Regions from separate parts of the Homo sapiens genome. Here region 1 is linked to region 2. Evidence: promoter capture Hi-C in 16 types of primary human blood cells and fetal thymus (Javierre and others, 2016). All regions are on one chromosome and are shown on one strand. Each heading gives the region's core, a stretch centred on a gene start or on the middle of the fragment in contact. The rest is flanking DNA. Distances are from core to core; before and after follow the strand shown.

Region 1 (2,700 bases), core at 148-2,647, 250 kb before region 2:
TTGTATTCCTGCCAACAGTGTACAAGGGTTCCAATCTCTCCATATCTTTGCTAACACTTGTCTTTTTTAAAAAAAAAAATAGGCCGGGCGTGGTGGCTCCCACCTGTAATCCCAGCACTCTGGGAGGCTGAGGCAGCAGAATCACTTGAACCCGGGAGGTGGAGGTTGCAGTGAGCCAGGATCACGCCATTGCACTCCAGCCTGGGCAACAGAGCAAGACTCCATCTCAAAAAAAAAAAAAAAATAGTCATCCTAACAAGTGTGAGATAATATCTCATTGTGGTTTTGATTTGCATTTGCCTAGTGATTAGTGATGTTTAGCTTTTTAAATTTTCATATGCCTTTTGGTCATTTGTATGTCTTCCTCGGACAACTGCCTATTCAAGTCCTTAGCCCGTGTGAAGGTTCCTCAAAACATTAAAAATAGAACTACCATATGATTCAGCACCCTCACCTCTGGGTATTTACCCAAAAGAATTGAAATTAACATCCTGAAGAAATGTTAGCAGTTCCATGTTCATTGCAGCACTCTTCACAACAGCTAAACGTGGAAGCAATCTAGGTGTCCACTGACGAACAAATGGATAAGGAAAATGTGTTTATGCATATGATGGAATATTTTTCAGCCCCCCAAAAAGAAGGAAGTTCTGCAATGAGACAACATAGATGAACCCTGAGGACATTATGGTAAATGAAAAACACTAGTCACAGGAAAACAAATACTAGATGATTCCACTTACGTAAAGTAACAAAAATAGTCAAATTGATAGAAAATCAGAGTGAAAGGGTGGTGGCTACAGCCTGGAAGAAGGGCAAAATGGGGAATTACTTACCAATGGGCATCAAGTTTCAGTCAAGCATGATGAATAAGCCCCAGAGATCTGCTGTCTCGTACTGCATCCATCATCAACAATGATGCATTTTACACTTAAAACTTTGTTAAGAGGATAGATTTCATGTTACGTGTTCTTTCCAAAATAAAATAAAATAGATCACTGGGGGTGGGGGGAAAAGCAGCCAAAGGATTGCTGGTCTGGTAGTGGTTATTTTGATGGATGGGGAGGGACGTGTAGAGATTAGAAGGAGCAAAGAAGGGCTTCTGGGGCTCTGCTTACAAAGAAAAATTCACTGTGTGAGAATTCATCAAGCTGGACACTTTTCCCGTACAATAAACAGTTGTCAAAAACTGTGTGACCAGTCCAGACTAAAACCAGCACCCTTGATTCCAAATTCTAAACTCCTAGAAGAGGCCAATTTGATCCTGTTTGGGAGAGATGTCCACACGCATCTGGACCAAATCAGGCCAAGGCTGTAGGGTCACAGACCTTTGGCAGTGCATATCTGGAAAGGCAGCTCTCAGGGAAGAAAGCTGCCTGCTTCAGGACCATTTGTGCAGGTACACAGGGTTGAGGTCTACCAGGCAGTTTGAGGTACTAGGTAAGAGCATAGCCCCACGGGCCAGAGGGCCTAGAGCTGGACCTCTCACAAGTGACCTTGAGCAAGTCATTTAGTCTCTGAGTACCTCAGTTTCCTCATCTGTGAAATGGAATTATAACAATGATAACCTATCTCACAGGGTGTAATGAAGAATGAAGAATTATTATATGTAAAGTGTTTAGGACAGAATTATATCTATAAATGCTGGCTCTTAGTTTTTTTTTTTTGAAAAAGAATACCAAGACATCCTAGAATCCTAGACCACTGGAGGTGGGGGAGCCCTCATGAGGGCATGAACCTCATGAACACAAAAGAGCAGAGACAGAAAGAAGACTAGGAAACGTGAGGTCTCTTGAGTCCAGAACCAGGGCCTTTCACATCCTTTCTGGCTGCCTATCTCCAAGGCCATCTGCCTTTTGATTTCTCCATTTGCCCCCAGGCCTGCAGGCTCCAGAAATTACGGTCTTCTGGGAAATTGTGAGGCTGGTCCTGCCTCCCAACTAGGAGAAGCCACAATAATTTATAGATGGGACGCATCAGCTTCATTCAAGTCCCAGCAGCTCGCCTCTCTGTGCACGGTTGGTTTCTGTTCTCTGGCCTTCCAGCATCATGGATTTGCTTCTTCCTCCACAGCATGCAGCTCTGTGTCTTCGTGACAGTGAGGGACAAAGGGATGTTTGGAAGCAATTCATTCTGACCTTTACAAGCGGGTTCTGCATTGCAGAAGCAGTCAGCCCGTGGCAAATGAGAGCAGAAGAATCATGCAGAATTCACTTGACAATCAAGAGAACTGCATTTTATCACATTACCATCATTTTATCAGCCCCTCTCTCCAACCAGCCCATGGGAGATGCCTTTCCATTTTGCAGAAAGCAAGATAAATGCATGCAATTCCAAAAATAAGGATGGACTTTTGAAATGCACAATCTAAGACTTGAAAGGATCATTTGTGGCAATAATATTAACTAGCATGTCCTATGTGCCAGTTACGGCATGAAGCTCTTACCATCTAGGTTAACTCATTTAATCCTCACGTGGACCCTATGAGGTGGGTGCCATTTTATCCTCTTTTTATAGATGAGGAAACTGAAGCAGGGAGGTTAGGTAACTAGCCCAAGATTATCAGCTAGTTAGTGGCCAAACTGGAATTCAAACTCAGTCATTCTGGTTTCAGAGCTTTTATACATATTGCCTTACACTGGCTTCTAAACCCAGCTATCCATCAGAATTACCCAAGAACTTTTTAACACATGGATTCCCAGG
Region 2 (3,038 bases), core at 359-2,858:
CAACTGCTCCCCACTCCGACTCCCAACAAACCCACACTCTAACTGCACCCATTCCCATTTCCCAACCAATACCCCAATTATCTGCGCCCCAGTTCCCCAATCATCCCACCCCATCTCTCACACCATTGCATTTAACCATCCCATCCTTCACACATCACATCTCTTGCTCTCGCTTTCTGCCAACCTGCAGCATCTCATGCCTGGAGATCTTCCCATCGCGATCCAGGTCATAGAGCTGAAATGCATCTGGGGAGAGGGTGGGAGGGGGAAAGGAAGGTAGGTCTTCCCTGGCTCTCTTCCAGCAGCCACCTTCCTTCCCCCCACCTTGGAGGAGGGGGGAGGTTGTCAATGCCCTCAGGAAGGGAGTGGGAGATCCCTGGAGCCTGTCCCTGGTGTGGGTACATCTGCATTCTCACTTGTGCAGGTCCTCACAAACTCACAGTGAAGTTTGTTCCTTCTGCTGTTGAGAGGTTCAGGTTTCTTGGGGTCTTGGGTTTCTGTGTCCTCATCTTCTACAGGGCGAAAATGAGCCAAGACCCTGACAAAGCCTGGGAAATCCACTCGCTGGCTCCTGGGGAGACGGGACAGAATGGAAAGAGGTGGTGGTCACCTTGGCCATCACTTTGCCTCCGTCTCTAACCTCCCCTCCCACCCACTCACACACCGGTTTTCCCGCCTTCACCTCCCCACGCCCAGCAAGCCTCACCCATCGGGGAAGAAGCTTTCTATAATTCGGTCTCCCAGGGGGTTCACGGCGAGCGCCCCTATCTGCTGGAGATCCATGCGGCTGCAAAGCCAAATTTCAAAGAGGGTAAGGCAGAGATGCCAGACGGAGGGTCAAAGAGGGACATGGAGTCAGAGAGACAGAGGCCAGAAGTTATGAGGCCGGCTCCCCCTCACCTCAGGTAGCCCTTCTTATTCCTGTCCAGTGCCCGGAACCGGTGGTGCAGGCGGAGCAGGCTGGCTTGGGAGACTGCGGGAAGGAGAGTGGGGTGGGGGTGTGTGACTCTGCAGGGCCAGCTCCAGAAACCCGCCCCAACAGGCCAGGAAGATGGGCCAGAACAGCGGGGGCTGGCTGGAAGGGGCGATCATCCCGGGGAATCAGGGGTTGAGCTGGCCGGGGCGGAGGGAGAGTGACACGACCCCGCGAAGATCCAGGTTCAAGACCCGGGCGGCTCGCAACCTCCCGAAAACCAAAGAACCAAAGCCATCCCTTCCAACCGCCGTCAGCTCTGCCTTCAGCTTCGAGCCGGGCTGGAGGACACCTGGGTGCCTGGATTCCTCTGGACTCCGACCCCGTGAACCCGGATCCTCCCCAGACTTGGAGGCTGGGACCCCTAGGTTAACCCGCCCCTAACCCAGCGATCCCAGGCACAGGGGCCTTGGTCTTCCAGCTCCGGGGAGCCCCGGACCCCAGACTTGTAAGTTCGTCCATCCTTCAACCCAACCCCTTCCCTAGCCCCAGACGCCTGGGTTCGCCCCGTCCCCTCCGCAGCCGCCGACGCGGGCGCACTCACAGCCGGTCTCTCGCCGAATACTGTCCCCGTCGGGAATGACCGCGGCGTGGGAGCTGCGCGACCCCATGGCCGAGCTGGAGGCGGAAGGGCCGGAGCAGCCACCCGGACCCACGCGTTCTCTCCTCCCGCCGGAGAGGCGTGGCCGCCCCAGTGGCCCCAGGGGGACGAAGGCCACAAGCCTGGCGCGCGGCCAAGCTCCAGAACCCCGGCGTGCCTCTCCTCCCACCCGCGACCCGGGCGAATGGAAAACAATGTGCAGGGTGGCGGGTCAGAGGGAGGCTGCGAACAACGGGCTGTTTCAGCTCCGAGATTTTGCGATCCGCACGGGAGAGGCTGGTCGAGTCCCAGGCCCCGCGTTTCCACGCCTCCCCCGGGGCCGGTTCCCACGGTGCGCCCTGACACCTGAGCCACCTCCTCCTTCGCGGGCCCCGGGCGCTCCCAACCCCAGGGCGCTCCCCGGCGTCGACGCTGAGGAAGCCTGGGAGACCTGACCTCCTCTGTAGAGACCACGCCCTGCTGGAAGGCGGGTGGCCTATGGGGAGGGAATCCTGGGGGGAGGGGGGAAGAGGCATCGAAGAACTCCCAAAGACGGGGAAGTGGGGAGGGGCGGCGAGATGAAGGGTGTGCGTTAGGTTAAGTGGAAAGAGCACTGGTTTGGGAGTCCTTGTTGGAATCCCAGCCGTGCCCGTGACTCTGGGAAAGTCAGTAAATCTTGGTTTCATCCCTTTTGTTCGGTTCACATTGCCTTATTGTTGTTTAATTGAGCCAATGCTTAAAATTCAGGAGATTTAACCCAAAATCCACATTCTTGGCTTTTCCTGAGAAATCAGAAGTTCTATCACCACCAGGCCCAGAGCTGTCTTCTGGCCACAGTCCCTCCAAGCCCAATTCACTCCCTTAGGTACCTACTGATCCCGTAGAGCTCCAGACTGGGAATGACTTAGTCCTCTGAACAGCCCTCCAGAGCCATGGGACTCCTTGGCCCAAGAGAGGGTTACAGACATCACTGGGACTAGGCTTAAAGCAAGAATGACAACAAGGGCTCTTGTTTACCACGCTTTGCTAAGCACTTTACGTGCATCCGTTCACACATTCCTTGTAGGCCCTGCTGGGCTGCTTTCTTCTAATTTTACGTGGTGGAGGCTGCCGGGGGCAAGTTGTGAACTAATTATGTAAAGCGTGCATTCTCAGTGCGGTCTCTATCTCACCCCAACGGGGCAAAAAATAAAACATATTTTTTATGTACAAAGCACAGCATACATACAGCACATAAATAGATATACAGTATAGCTGTGATATTGAAATTTCAGGGCAGACGTGGAGGCTCATGCCTGTAATCCCAGCACTTTGGGAGGTAGAGGCAGGAGGATTGCTTGAGCCCAGGAGCTCAAGACCAGCCTAGGCAACATAGTGAGACCCCATCTCTACAAAAGAATACAAAAAAAAAAAATTAACCAGGTGTCGTGGCACATGCCTGTAGTCTCAGCTACTTGGGAGTCTGAGACAGGAGGATCACTTGAG

The links. Contacts are between HindIII fragments. The CHiCAGO score rates a contact against its expected background, and 5 or more counts as called.
Region 1: a fragment that was not itself captured here is called in contact with the fragment with the promoter of CHP2 in region 2 in 1 of 17 cell types (megakaryocytes); the score reaches 5.3 in megakaryocytes.

The regions. Positions count from the first base shown.
Region 1 is chr16:24,006,971-24,009,670 of GRCh38, reverse strand. The region is part of intron 3 of PRKCB (protein kinase C beta); the gene reads right to left. Among named protein-coding and RNA genes, the nearest start is that of PRKCB, 170 kb to the right of the region's middle. The HindIII fragment of the contact is 8,795 bases long and covers 1-2,700 here.
Region 2 is chr16:23,753,596-23,756,633 of GRCh38, reverse strand. It overlaps CHP2 (calcineurin like EF-hand protein 2), which reads right to left and starts at 1,608. Exons shown (of 7, transcript NM_022097.4): 1 at 1,518-1,608; 2 at 901-973; 3 at 707-787; 4 at 441-571; 5 at 185-246. The coding sequence starts at 1,584. RefSeq lists an enhancer at 1,075-1,720. The HindIII fragment of the contact is 3,392 bases long and covers 724-3,038 here.